4 separate regions of the Homo sapiens genome follow, and all the other regions are linked to region 4. The links are contacts of gene promoters, found by promoter capture Hi-C in blood cells and fetal thymus (Javierre and others, 2016). All regions are on one chromosome and are shown on one strand. The core of a region is centred on a gene start or on the middle of the fragment in contact, and the rest is flanking DNA. Distances in the headings are between cores, read along the strand shown. Region 1 overlaps NF2 (NF2, moesin-ezrin-radixin like (MERLIN) tumor suppressor). Region 2 overlaps NF2 (NF2, moesin-ezrin-radixin like (MERLIN) tumor suppressor). Region 3 overlaps NF2 (NF2, moesin-ezrin-radixin like (MERLIN) tumor suppressor). Region 4 holds the start of OSM (oncostatin M).

The links. The method cuts DNA at HindIII sites, captures the fragments that hold promoters and counts their contacts. A CHiCAGO score of 5 or more calls a contact.
Region 1: a fragment that was not itself captured here is called in contact with the fragment with the promoter of OSM in region 4 in 1 of 17 cell types (erythroblasts); the score reaches 6.2 in erythroblasts.
Region 2: a fragment that was not itself captured here is called in contact with the fragment with the promoter of OSM in region 4 in 4 of 17 cell types (erythroblasts, fetal thymus, M0 macrophages and 1 more); the score reaches 5.8 in erythroblasts.
Region 3: a contact is called between a fragment that was not itself captured here and the fragment with the promoter of OSM in region 4, in 1 of 17 cell types (M0 macrophages). The highest score is 5.5, in M0 macrophages.

Annotation. Positions count from the first base shown.
Region 1 is chr22:29,686,602-29,689,860 of GRCh38, forward strand. The region is part of intron 15 of NF2 (NF2, moesin-ezrin-radixin like (MERLIN) tumor suppressor); the gene reads left to right. Among named protein-coding and RNA genes, the nearest start is that of CABP7-DT, 32 kb to the right of the region's middle. RefSeq lists enhancers at 1,623-2,124, 2,125-2,624, 2,844-3,259 and a silencer at 3,197-3,259. The HindIII fragment of the contact is 1,644 bases long and covers 643-2,286 here.
Region 2 is chr22:29,632,371-29,635,569 of GRCh38, forward strand. All of the region lies in intron 1 of NF2 (NF2, moesin-ezrin-radixin like (MERLIN) tumor suppressor), which reads left to right. Among named protein-coding and RNA genes, the nearest start is that of NF2, 30 kb to the left of the region's middle. The HindIII fragment of the contact is 1,122 bases long and covers 1,328-2,449 here.
Region 3 is chr22:29,665,614-29,668,575 of GRCh38, forward strand. NF2 (NF2, moesin-ezrin-radixin like (MERLIN) tumor suppressor) reads left to right here. Exons shown (of 16, transcript NM_000268.4): 10 at 2,720-2,833. Among named protein-coding and RNA genes, the nearest start is that of CABP7-DT, 53 kb to the right of the region's middle. The HindIII fragment of the contact is 4,563 bases long and covers 1-2,962 here.
Region 4 is chr22:30,265,274-30,268,555 of GRCh38, forward strand. OSM (oncostatin M) reads right to left here and starts at 1,578. Exons shown (of 3, transcript NM_020530.6): 1 at 1,493-1,578. The coding sequence starts at 1,526. RefSeq lists enhancers at 742-821, 882-981. The HindIII fragment of the contact is 8,742 bases long and covers 1-3,282 here.

The sequences.
Region 1 (3,259 bases), core at 215-2,714, 580 kb before region 4:
GCACTCCAGCCTGGGCAACAAGAGCAAGATTCCATCTCATAAATAAATAAATAAATAGCCATAATTAACTTCACTGTTTCCTTGTAATATTTCACTTGGGTTTGCAAGGATGTATTTTTCTCCTCTTGCTAATCTTAACTTCCTGTATTTCCATTTTTCCCAATTGATGATCAGTACAACTAGTTTGCCATTTGCATCTGAGTCAGAGCAGTGCTAGCGATCAAAAGCCGCCCTGGGGAACCTGGAATTGTTTCATTCTCAGTGGGAGCGACACGTGTCCTGGCATCTGAGCCTTCCGAGTGAGGGGAGTGAGTCTGGCCATCAGGCTGGGGTTGAGGGACACAGGGTGCCTTGAGCCTGGCTTTCGTGCCTTCAGAGCCACAGTGCCAATGATGGGAGTGGTGGCTTGGTGTGGCGTAACTGTACCACCATACCTTGATGGTAGAATGCAGTCCTGGAATATATACATTCAGGGTCTTTCTTTCATCGCTTCTCAAGAGAGGGGTTTCAGTCTCCCGATCCTGAGCTGGTCTGAGTGCCAGCAAACAAAGTCATCACTTTTGTGCCTGTGGTCTCCCAAGGAGCACAGGATTTCCAAGGAAATTGACGGATGAGAAATCATGGGGGTGGTGGAGCTTAGAAAGCTTATTTCATTAGTAAATGGTTTGAACCGTCAAGGTCCAGCTGTGGTTTCCACTGATGGAGGAACAGGAAGAAGAGGAGCCTTGACATTTATCTCAAGCGCCAGCAGCTTCTCTTGGATCAGGAAGACATAAAAGTCCAATGTCATCTTCAATTTGTGCAGGCTCCCCTTGGAGTTGCAGAGCCAGTGAAGTGAAGTAGAACAGTTAAAAAAACACCCGGGGAAGTGATAAATCACAGAGAGAGATTGCATATGCGGGAAAGGTGTCTCCCACAATTAAAACAAGTGGCCAGAGCCTCCCTGGCGACCTCTGGTCTGCATTGCCAGCCCTGAAGATGGCTCCTAAATTACTTAAGTTTAATAGGTAGTTAATATAGCCAACCCTCCTTATGACCCCAGTGGGCTGAATGGCTCTGCTTGCTTTAGGAACTGGGCGTTGTATGGTAGAGCATCTTGGCCTTGACATAAAAGGTAGCATACTGGCTCCCCAGCCCTGAACCTTCCCTGCTAGAGCAAGGCAGGGGTGAGAGGGGGAAGGAAAGAAAAAGGAGTGGGGAGTGGGGTGGGGAGCAAGGATTAACAGGGAGCAGTAGCAGCACCAGATGTGGGCATAGCACACTGGGAAGAAATTGCAGTGGCGATCTGAACTCTTCCTCTCCGCCTCCTGGCTCTGTGGAAGCCCAGGGAAGGCATTAGGAACTGCAGGCTGCTCTTAGTGCTCCTCCCGGATGGGACACCTTGGGCTCATCCCTGAAGGCCACTCCTACCACTCTCACACACTGAGTTCCTGGTGTCTCGTAACTGTTGAGAGCTTAGTTTTCTTGCTTGTTTCTGGTAGCTCTAGATAGAAGACTGTATCGGCCTCTTCTAAAAGTCAACAAGCCAATCCTGTTTTTGGTTAAGAGACTTTACCTGGTCAAGCAGTTGTTCTTTGGGAGGTGTTGAAGAGCCTACAAACCTGCCTTGCCTGCCTAGGTACTTTACCACCATTTGGAGATGCCTGAGGATATTACCAGGCCTTATTTGAGGCAGTAAAACACCCTGTTCGGCCCCTCGGCACTGAAGATGTGTTTCAGTGCAGCTCTCCTCGGCACCGGATTCGTTGCTGCAACAGTGGGAGGGAAGAGCCAGATGCAAACTCGTTCTGCGAGCCCGAGGTTCTGTTCTCATGATCCTTGCTGTGATTTCTCTTTTGATGTTGGCAATTTTAAAATGACATCAGTCTATCTGGACCTTTTTCCTAAGGCTCTTGCTCAGACCACTCAGTAGATAGCCGCCACCTGCCCAGTGAGGTGAATCAGGCCCATTAGGCCATTTGTCAGGGGAAGGAACAGAGGAGCAGCGGAGGGCCCCGCCGGCCAGTGCCACAGGGCAGCCTGCAAAGCAGGTAGACAGGTTTTCAGGCAGCTTTTGCTGCTTTGGGTCCCTCAGGGATTAATACACAAAAAGGGCCCCTTGGGTATTCAGTGGCAGATTTCTCTTGAGAGCAGATAAAGTCGCTAATAACAAATTGGATTTGTTCATTGGGGTGGACTTGGCCTTTCGTTCCACCTCTGTGTAGGATAAGTGTGTGGATAGTGCTCCCACTGTGCACATCACCATATGGCATTTGGGTGCAGCTGTCCCTAGCCAGACTGCAGAAAAGCTTGATCTGGGCCGGACGCGGTGGCTTATGCCTGTAATCCCAGCACTTTGGGAGGCCGAGGCAGGCGGATCACGAAGTCAAGAGATTGAGACCATCCTGGCCAACATGGTGAAACCCTGTCTCTACTAAAAATACAAAAATTAGCTGGGCGTGGTGGCATGCGCCTGTAGTTCCAGCTACTCAGGAGGCTGAGGCAGGAGAATCACTTAAACCCAGGAGGCAGAGGCTGCAGTGAGCGGAGATCGCGCCACTGCAGTTCAGCCTGGCAACGGAGTGAGACTCCGTCTCAAAAAAAAAAAAAAAAAAAAAAAGAGAAAGTAAAGAAAAGCTTGATCTGGCCACTTAGTACAGCCATCCCCCTTTACTGGCCCTTCCTCTTTGCTTATTTGGAAGGGGGAAGGTTTCCCACACCCCAAACCAAAGATTCTTTTGGAATTTGCTGCTGCTGGATTCAGCTGTCACCTTTCTGCTCTGAGTCTGCTTTCTCCCTGTGGATCCGGTGCCAGAGGATCTGCACGTCCTTTTGTGTCTACACCCTCCCCCGCTCCTTCGTTTTCAATATGTAGTAGTGGAGAGGAAGTGTAACATGATTTTAGGGCTCACATTTCAATTCCACTGCATTTTTATGGGACAAGCAGAGACCCAGCGCCTGGAGTTATTAGGTTAGTATCTAAAATGGGTTCAGTACTGTGAGTCTTATTGTTTAAAATGAATGAGATGGTCCCCTCCTACCTTCTTTTCTCCTCCCCTGGGATGAGTGGATTGAGGCAAGGCCCCCAGAGACTAGTTGAAGGAATCCTGGTGCTCTGATTAGTTTTGTTCCCCAGCTTAATTGTACAGCTTCCTTTCTCTCACCACTGATAGCCAAAGTAGCTCTGTGTCTCCCCCAACCTTCCCTTGCTTTAGGAACAAGATGATCACAATGCAGCCTTGTGAATCAATTTTCTGTCTGTGCTGATGAAAGTGTAATT
Region 2 (3,199 bases), core at 639-3,138, 630 kb before region 4:
ACCATGAGCCAGTTTAGATGTCATTTCCCTACCTGCCCAGGATAGGAGGTTCCCACAGCCGCTGGGTGTCCTGTTGTGGCACTCACAAGTGTTATAGTGCTGAAAGCCCACTCCTGGGGTTTTTATGTGTGCGATGAAGGAGGTGATTATCTTTTCCCAGCTAGTTCATATCCTAGTCCTCTGAGTGTAGAGACTTGTTTCTTTTTCCCCATTTGTCCCCTGCACCTTGGGCGGTGCTTGGACACAATGTGTGTGTTCACTAACTATTTGTGGAAGAGGTGGGTGAGCGGGAGTTAACTGGCTTTAAGTCTTTGAGTTTTGGGTTTTTGAAGTAGTCAAGTCCGTCCACAGTCCGTCCTGTGGACAGCCATTGTTTGCCATGTCTTGTATGTACACACTTGCCTGGGCACTGTGGGGAGCAGAAAGAGGACTAATACTGCCCTTGTGCTGAGGCACCTACAGTCTCGGGAGATGTTCAGAGGACAGTGAGTCACTTCACAGCATCAGCATGGTATAGTGGATGAGTGATGACACTGAAGATGAGCTTGGTCATATTCTGGCAAGTTGGCTGACACCTGGAAGTCCCGTCCACACCCCAAGACCTCTTTTCCCAGGGTGTCCTGAGAACCACCCAGAGCAACTGTGACCAATGGCGCTTGTTTTTAAAGAAGTAGAAACCCAAATTAGGAAGACTGAGCAAACCTCATGCATTTGGGGAAGGGCTTGTTGGAAAGTGGAACCTGATGTAGGTAGCAACATGTTGAGGTTAGATTTAACCAAACAGAAAGACTTCTTAATTGCTTAAAGACAAAATTTTATTTTATAAGTGGAATTAGGGCTTTAAATCAAATATGTTTGAACGTCTTTACTTGGTTTCCTCAGGCACCTTCACTCATCTTGTCTAAAACTTAATTGCTGGTCTATCCCTGCCAGATTTGCTGCTTCTCCTTGATTCCATCTCTCCTTTAGTGGAACCACCTGGTACTCAAGCCAGACACACAGGTGTCCCTCTTAATTCTGTCTCCTCTGGTCCTGTTCAGGCACCTGTTCTGTGACTCTGCCTCTTTTCCGTTTCTCAGGCTGCCTTCTCTCCCTTCTACTGCCTTCCTTATGTCAGGGGTTGGCCTACTTTCTGGCCTTCTTGATCCAGGGCTTCTTTTGTTCAACTCATACTCCACCCTGTTGTCAGAGCCCATCCAGATTGCAGATTGGAGCCTATGACTCGTCTGCTCAAGGGTCTTCAAAGACTTTGCAGCTTTTGGCTGAAGTTGAGCCACCTGGTCCCAAATGGAGCCCCATTCCCGCCATGCCACCTCCTGTCTGTTTAAGCTTTACAAGATGACTTGCAGTTTCCTGTAGAAAGCATGACTTTTAAAAAAAGACTTATTTCCTTCTCTCCTGCATCTAACTCTCACTTGCTCTTTAAAGCCTTCTCTGACCTAGGTCTTGCCTGTTTCTCCTGCAGAACACTGCTTCCACCATTTTGTAGCATCAGTGTCTAACATTGGTTGGCATGTAGGGTGTGCTCTATAATCCTTGTTGAAAGAATAAGTGGGAGGTAACAGAGGCTTAATTCACATTGAGCTGTAAACGAGCAATATCTGACTCTTCTGAGAATGGATTTTGTTTCAAACACTGGTTACTTACTGGAAAAGGTGTCTGGGGAGTGCTGGACAGCAAGAACAAAGGGACCCCACAGAACAGGAAAAGAGGCACTCTAGGGTCTGCGGTTTGCCTATGTTAGATCACCGTGAAAAAGGCCAGTGTATGCTTTGGCAGCTGGCAAAGAATCCTGTGACTCAGTTTCCTTATTTGCACAAAAAGGGTATGAGTCTACATTAGGTAATTACTCATGCTCATTTCCAACTCTTGACAGTCTACGATCCTTTGTGTCAAAGTTAAAAATCTAAGTAGGGCATTCTGAATTGGTGTCAGAGTTGATGCACTTCTCACTGTATTGCAAGTGCCAAGGGGACAAATACATTGTCTTTTTGCATTCAACAAAGACAGTTTTGCATTTTAAAAACAAAGTAGAAGGGAATACAGGAAAACTGCATTAATACAATTTTATGCTGGAGAATTTAAACTCCCATGTCAGGAAATTCACTCATCATTCCCTTGGCAGCTTTTGTTTCTCTGCACTGCACACCCCACTTACAGACAGCCCCTTCTTGCCAAAGCCCAGCCCAGCCATGACCATGAGTTATGGCAGATTGGGAATCGTTACCTTGATCTTCTCAACCCTTGGGTGTTTACCTTTTCCAAGTTAATGCCTGTTCTTTAATGTTACATTATCTTGTAGCAAGGTAGTCATTTATAATTTATATACTAGAGCTGCCTTAAAATAGAGACAAGAGGATAATCAGCATCCTGAAACTTCTAGTTTTCCAAAATAACATTTCTTCAGTGAAGTCTGCCTGTAGGAATTAAAACTTTTGGTGAATTAAAAAGCTTTTTGTCCTATTGTCAGACTGGGAAATGGATGTGCCCATTACTCAGCCTTAAAAACGAGGAAGGAGATCATCTGTTAAAAATAAAACTCATCATTTTCTTTTATTCTTCTCAAAATAATCCCTAAAGACCTCAATCTTTATAGTGTTCCAGTGGCCCCACTATAGTCAGAGAGGAGACAGGGCAGAAGTTGAAGGACAGATAGGAGAAACGGCCCTGCTAAAAGATAAAAGCCAGTATGCATCTCAGCTACTTGTCTGCTGTGGTCCTGATATTCTTCCATCTAGGTTGCTGCTTTGCTTGACTTTGACTGCAAACACAGAGAAGGGATGGGCTTTCCTGTTGAGTACCTTGTAGAGAACCCACTGTTCATTCATATGTGTTAAAAATGAAAAGCCTACTTGAAAACTCCCCTGTAGAATCAGGTTTTAGCAAAAACCAATCAGGTATCAGAGGTCTAACTTATTTTTCCCTTCTTGGTTTTATAGCAAGTCTCTAAACCCTAAGATTTTTTGTTTGTTTGTTTGAGATGGAGTCTTGCTTTGTCGCCAGGCTGGAGTGCAGTGGCATGATCTCGGCTCACTGCAACCTCCGCCTCCCGGTTTCGAGTGATTCCCCTGCCTCAGCCTCCCGAGTAGCTGGGACTACAGGCATGCGCTACCACACCTGGCTAATTTTTTAGTATTTTACTAGAGACAGGGTTTCACCATGTTGGCCAGGATGGTCTCGATCTCCTGACCTCATGATT
Region 3 (2,962 bases), core at 463-2,962, 600 kb before region 4:
AATTATAAAGAATAACAAAAGTGAATAGCTGTGTACCCACAACCCCACTTTAAGAAATAGCACAGTCCTGGCCGGGTGCGGTGGCTTACGCCTGTAATCCCAGCACTTTGGGTGGCCGAGACGGGTGGATCACAAGGTCAGGAAAAAAAAAAAAAAAGAAAAAGAAAAAGGAAAAAAGAAATAGCACAGTCCCAATACTGTTGAGACCCTTCATGTTAACACCCTGCTGGTCTCTCCTTTCCCTCTCCCCAAGGGTGATCACTGTTTTGAGTTGAGTATTCATCATCCTCTTGCTTTTCAACAGAATTTTATTTCATATATGGCAAAAGAAAAATACCATTCAATGTCATATGTTTATGAAATTTATCTAAATGCTGTCAAGTATATATATTCTTTTGTCATTTTCCTTTTCCTTTTTCATTATTTTTTTGAGATATATCTTTGTTGATGCTTAAAGATAGTCTGTTCATTCTCACCTCTGTAGCACTCTGTTATATATTTTTCTGATTCTTCTGTTAATGGATAATTAAGTGCTTTTTACTTCTATACTTTTTTTTTTGAAATGGGGTCTCACTCTGTTGCCCAGGCACAATCTCGGCTCACTGCAACCTCCGCCTCCCGGATTTAAGCAATTCTCCTGCCTCAGCCTCCTGAGTAGCTGGGATTACAGGCGGCCACTACCACGCCCGGCTAATTTTTGTATTTTTAGTAGAGATGGTGTTTCACCATGTTGGTCAGGCTGGTCTCGAACTCCTGACCTTGTGATCTGCCCACCTTGGCCTCCCAAAGTGCTGGGATTACAGGCGTGAGCCACTGCACCCAGCCACTTCTATACTGTTTTAACAGGCTGTTATGAAAACTTTTGTATCTGCCTCCTGGTGCACATAGGCAATAGTTTCTTTGGAGTCTTGAGTATACTGGGCTAGGTGGGGTGGCTCACGCCTGTAATCTCAGCACTTGGAGAGGTCAAGGCAGGATAACTGTTTGAGGCCAGGAGTTCGAGACCAACCTGGGCAACATAGCAAGACCCTGTCTCCAAAAAAATGAAAATAAATAAAATTTTTAAATAATAAAAAAGAGGGCCAGGCACAGTGGCTCAACTCCTGTAATCCCAGCACTTTGGGAGGCTGAGGCAGGCGGATCACCTGAGGTCAGGAGTTCAAGACCAGCCTGACCAACATGGAGAAATCCTGTCTCTACTAAAAATACAAAATTAGCTGGGCGTGGTGGCGCATGCCTATAAATCCCAGCTACTTAGGAGGCTGAGGCAGGAGATCGCTTGAACCCAGGAGGTGGAGGTTGCAGTGAGCCGAGATCATGCCATTGCACTCCAGCCTGGGCAACAAGAGTAAAACTTCGTCTCCAAAAAAAAAATAAATACATAAAAATAAATCAAAAATAGAGCTTAGAGTATATACACAGGAGTAGAAGTACAGGGCTTGGTATATGTTTAAATTTCAAAATTATGACACATTGTTTTCTAAAGAAGGTGAATCGATTTTTACAGACCCAACAGTAGTGGGTGAAGTTTGTTTTTTGCTATCCTTAATACTTGTATTATCAGCCTTTTAAAATTTTTGCCAATCTTGTGCATCTAAAATGGTATCTCATTATCAAATGAACTTTTTTTTTTTGAGATTTTGAGATAGGGTCTCACTCTGTTGCCCAGGCTGAAATGTAATGACACGATCATGTCTCACTGCAGCATGGACCTGCCCAGGCTCAGTGATCCTCCCACCTCACCCTCCCCAGTAGCTGGGACTACAGACACACACCACCATGCCCAGCTAATTTTTTGTATTTTTTTTATAGAGACAAAGTTTTGCCATGTTGTCCAGGCTTGTCTTAAACTCCTGGGCTCAAGCAATCTGCCTGCCTCCCCTTCCCAAAGTGCTAGGATTACACTTCCCAAAGTGCTGAGCCACCAGGTCTGGCCAAATGTTTTGAGTTTTTTGTGGAGATGGCGTCTCACTATGTCACCCAGGCTGGTCTTGAACTCCTGGGCTCAAGGATCCTCTCACCTTGGCCTCCGAAAGTGCTGGGATTACAGGTGTGAGCTACTGCACCTAGCCTGTTTTCTTTATTGGCTATATCTTCCAGTTTGTTGCTCTTTTTCTTTTTTTATGTCTTGACAATAAGAATTTTTAATTTTAATGTAGACAAATATATACATTTTTTCCTTAATCACTTTTTGTGTCTTACTTGGCATCTTCTCTTATCCTATGATCATAAAGATATTCTTCTATATTGTCTTCTAAAAGTTTCAAGGGCTTAATCTTTGCATTTAAGTATTTAATCCTTCTGGAGTTGATTTTTGTGTAAGGTGTAAGGGAGGGATACAACTTATTTTTTTCCACATGCATAACCTGTTGCCTCAGCCCAGCTTACTGAACGAGCTTTCCTATCCTCCCTGGTCTGCAGAACCACATCTTGATGTAGGAGAGTAAGGTGCACCCAGAAGACATGGTGAAGTGTCCTCCAGTCCTCTCTTGATTTATGATTTTTACCTCCTGGCATATCTGAGGCGCCTTCATTTTGCATGTTTCCAGAGCTGACGGCACTAGAGGCCACTAGTAGGGCTTTGGTGTTTCACTCTATGCATTCATCTTCACGTTTACTGCTACCTGCAAGAGCTCAAACTGCTATGGCACTAGTGGGCCAGTAGGCAGTGAAGTAAATTTGTGGATATTAACCTTTTTGTCTGCTTCTGTGGCCACAGATTCTCCAGCTATGTATCGGGAACCATGATCTATTTATGAGGAGAAGGAAAGCCGATTCTTTGGAAGTTCAGCAGATGAAAGCCCAGGCCAGGGAGGAGAAGGCTAGAAAGCAGGTGAGCACAACCTTGTTTTAACTGATGATGTCACTGTGTGGTCAGTCCTGGCCTGGGAGGCGAGGAGTGGTCATGGGCTGGCAGGAGTCTTTTGGCCGTGGACATACCTGCTCTTGTTTTATACCTTTT
Region 4 (3,282 bases), core at 328-2,827:
GGCTGGGCACTGTGTGGCACGGTGTGTGCCCAGGTGTGCCCACCAAGGCCACCATCATCTCCCCAGTAAGTCACTGCCCAGGGCCTGACACAGCAAGCAGTGGGAGGGACTGAGACAGTGGCTGCGATTTACCAAGTAGGTCTTTGAGCAAAGGCTGCAGTGCCTGGCCGGATCCCAGTCCTGCCTACAGCACGGTTCTAACCTCGGGAGCTGACTCTCTGCAAGGTGGGACTGGCTCCCTGCAAGACCACTGGGCTAAAGACCGGCCACTGCCCTAGGACCTGCCTTGTCAGCTGCTCTGGCCATCCAGGTAGATGGGCCTGAGAGGGCTTCAGGGCAGGCAGCCCGGGAGCAGCTTGTGTCCTCAGCTCTGTCTAGAACCAGGAGAGGCTGCCTTTTCAACCAGAGGTGCAGCCTGGAACAGATGTGGAAGACCTTCCAGTCCATGTCCCCACTTTCCTGACAGGTAAACCAAGTCTCAGGAGAAGGTCCTACTCAGGTCACACAAGGCCAGGGCTCTCCCCTGACCTCTCTTGCCTCCCTCCTCTCTCCATAAGTGGCTCCTTCTGTCAGGCCCACCAGGGATGCTGTGAGCCTGTCAGAAGGTGTTGGGGGCGGGTACAGTTACCGCTCACCACCACCCCCAACGGGGCACCGGCAGCCACGTGGTCGGAAGGGGCCTATGGCGCAATGGCCCGGAAGGCAGTGACACCATCGTTCCCGTCCTAAGAACCATCCGGCCCTTTGGGGAAGACTGGCTGTTGGGGAGGGCCAAGGGGCCAGGCACCCAGGCTTAGCGACCCCACGGCACCCTCGCCGCCTCCCCAGGTATCTGCTGCCGGGCTCTGGCAGGGGCCTGTGCCTGTGGCAGCGCACGTGGGACTGGGGTTTCTGTGTGGCTGTGCATCTGGGTCTGTGTGCGGCGTGAGGGAGACCTGTTCCGTTCACCATGGGGACTCTGGTCTGCATGTGGGGGTTCCTGGGCTGGTGAGATCCAGGGCTGTAGATGACGTCATATGGCTGTGTGCGCATGTGGCCATGTGGGTGTGGCTGTGCATGCTGTGTGATTGTGTGGGCCCTGGGGCCCCCAGGCCTGGCTGACTTTCTATTCATCCCGGGCAAGCTGGAGGCCCCACAACCCCTCCACACCTCACACCACTTCCCTGCCCAGCTTCTGAGCCTCCCTCTCCTGCCCAGCCTCTTTGCCCATCCTATTCTCTCACCCCCTGGTTCCCAGAGTTGCCTCTACATCTTGACATCACCTCCCCCTGGAAGCCTTCCAGGGATGCCCCTTCTCTACCTGTGGAGATGCCAGGTTCTCAGTGGACCACTCTCTCTGCCTGACCTCCTGGCTCTCTCCCCTTCTCAGCATCCTTCTGCCTGGCGCCTGGCCTCCCCAGTTCCCGGAGGGCAGAGGGTGCCTCTGCTCCCCACCGGCACCCGTGGGCAGACCCAGCAGGCGGGTTCTGGCGGGGAGGAAGGAAGTACTTACTGAGCAGCGTCCTCTGTGTGAGCAGTACCCCCATGCTGGGTGCCCGTGCTCCGGCCCGCGCCCGCTGGGGGTGACACCTCTCGGCTGGGAGCCCTGCAGGCTGGCAGCCACTTTATGCCCGCTGGGGCGATTGGCCAACACCTCATGAGGTGGGTGGGGATGGGGAGGGGGGAGGGCAGGCCTTCTGGGAACATGACCCCAAAAACCAAAATTTCCACGGGCGGCCAATGGGCGCAGGGCGCGGTGTATGCCCGCTCCTCCTCCTGTTTTCTTCGAATTCGTTCTTCGAGGTCAGCCCTACGCCCAAGGATGATGTAAAACCGCAGCCTCAGCCTTCCTAGGGTGAGTGGGGAGGAAAAGGGTCCATGCCATCTTCAGGGAACTGGGCCAGGGATGGGCAGGAGGGACTTCGAGCTGGGCCTCTGGAGGCCCCAGGCCAGTCTTGGCCCAGGAGCCATTGGCCTCACAGGACACGGTGGTTGGGGGCTGAGGGGAGCGAGACATCTTCCTTCTTGAGTGCCCTTCCTGCCCTCTCGCCGGGGCTGTTGGGACATCTGTGAGCGGAAACCACCGGGCTCTGGGCACAGAGCCAGACGCAGGCTGGCAGCCCCGAGATTGTGGTTCAGGCCCCAGGACCAGCATCCCCCAGCCCGGCTCCCGACGGTCTCCTTTCCCCCATCGTGCACCCTCTGCCAGGCCCACTCCCCAAAGCCAGGCCTTGTCTTTGTAGGCAGGCTCCACTGGGGAGAACTGGACACTTGGAGCAAGAGAAACAGGAGGCCAGGGTTCAAGCCTGCTGAGGTGCTGTGTGACCTGAGGCAAGTCACTTAACCTCTCTGGGCCTCAGAGACCCACAACTATAAAATGAGGAGGAGAAAAGCCTTTCCCAGCCCACCTCACAGGGTTGCTGCCAGCATGGACATAAAAGGAAAAGACCTCTGAAGGAAAAAGCAAAGATGAAGGTCTGATTCCAAGTATTAGCTGTCGAGGGGGCGGGATGGGGGAAGGAGGAGATGGGGAAGCTGTGAGCTCAGAGGGGAAGCCGGGGAGGGGGAGTTGCCGCCTTGACAGTTGGGGACCAGGTTTCACTTTCTCTGAAAGATAGCGATCTTAGGTTGGTCCTCTGCGAAAGGGCCCTGGGAACAGCGCCTCCCTAGTCAAACTGCTACTTTACTGTGGGGTAAACTGAGGCCTGGGTGAAGGCAGACAGGGAGGCCAAGAGGCTGGCCCAGGCCTATAGACCCTGCCTGGTCAGCACATCTCCCAGGCCCAGAGGAGGGTCCTTGGCCTGCACCCTAAGAAGCCCGGGTGGGAGGAGGCCCTCAGGAGTCTGGGGAGTCAGGGTGGGACTCCTGGAGGCTGCCAGGGAGGCCTGAGCTGCTCCAGCTGGAGGGAGCATGGGGTCTGGGGCGCCTGAGCAAGGAGAGCTGGGGCAGCCAGAAAGGAGGAGGTTGGATGCACCCCTGTCCATGCCTGCTCCCGATGCCCACTGTGGCCACCAAGGCAGTTGCCACCCATTCTCCCCATCACTCATTTATTCATTCGACAAACCTTTATTTGGCTCCATGCTGCACCAGCCACTCCCAGGTCTGAGGATCACGTAGTAGGCAAAAATAGGCGACCCCACGCCCAGGAGGCTGCTCTTCAGCCCCTACCCACTCCCCGGCACCCAGGCTGGGACTCACCACACCAGGCCTCATACCTCCCCCTCACCACCCCCAGGGGCCAGTTCTGGATTCTCATCCTGAGAATGTCGCTTCCGCTGAAGTCCTCATCTCTGTGCCCACCCC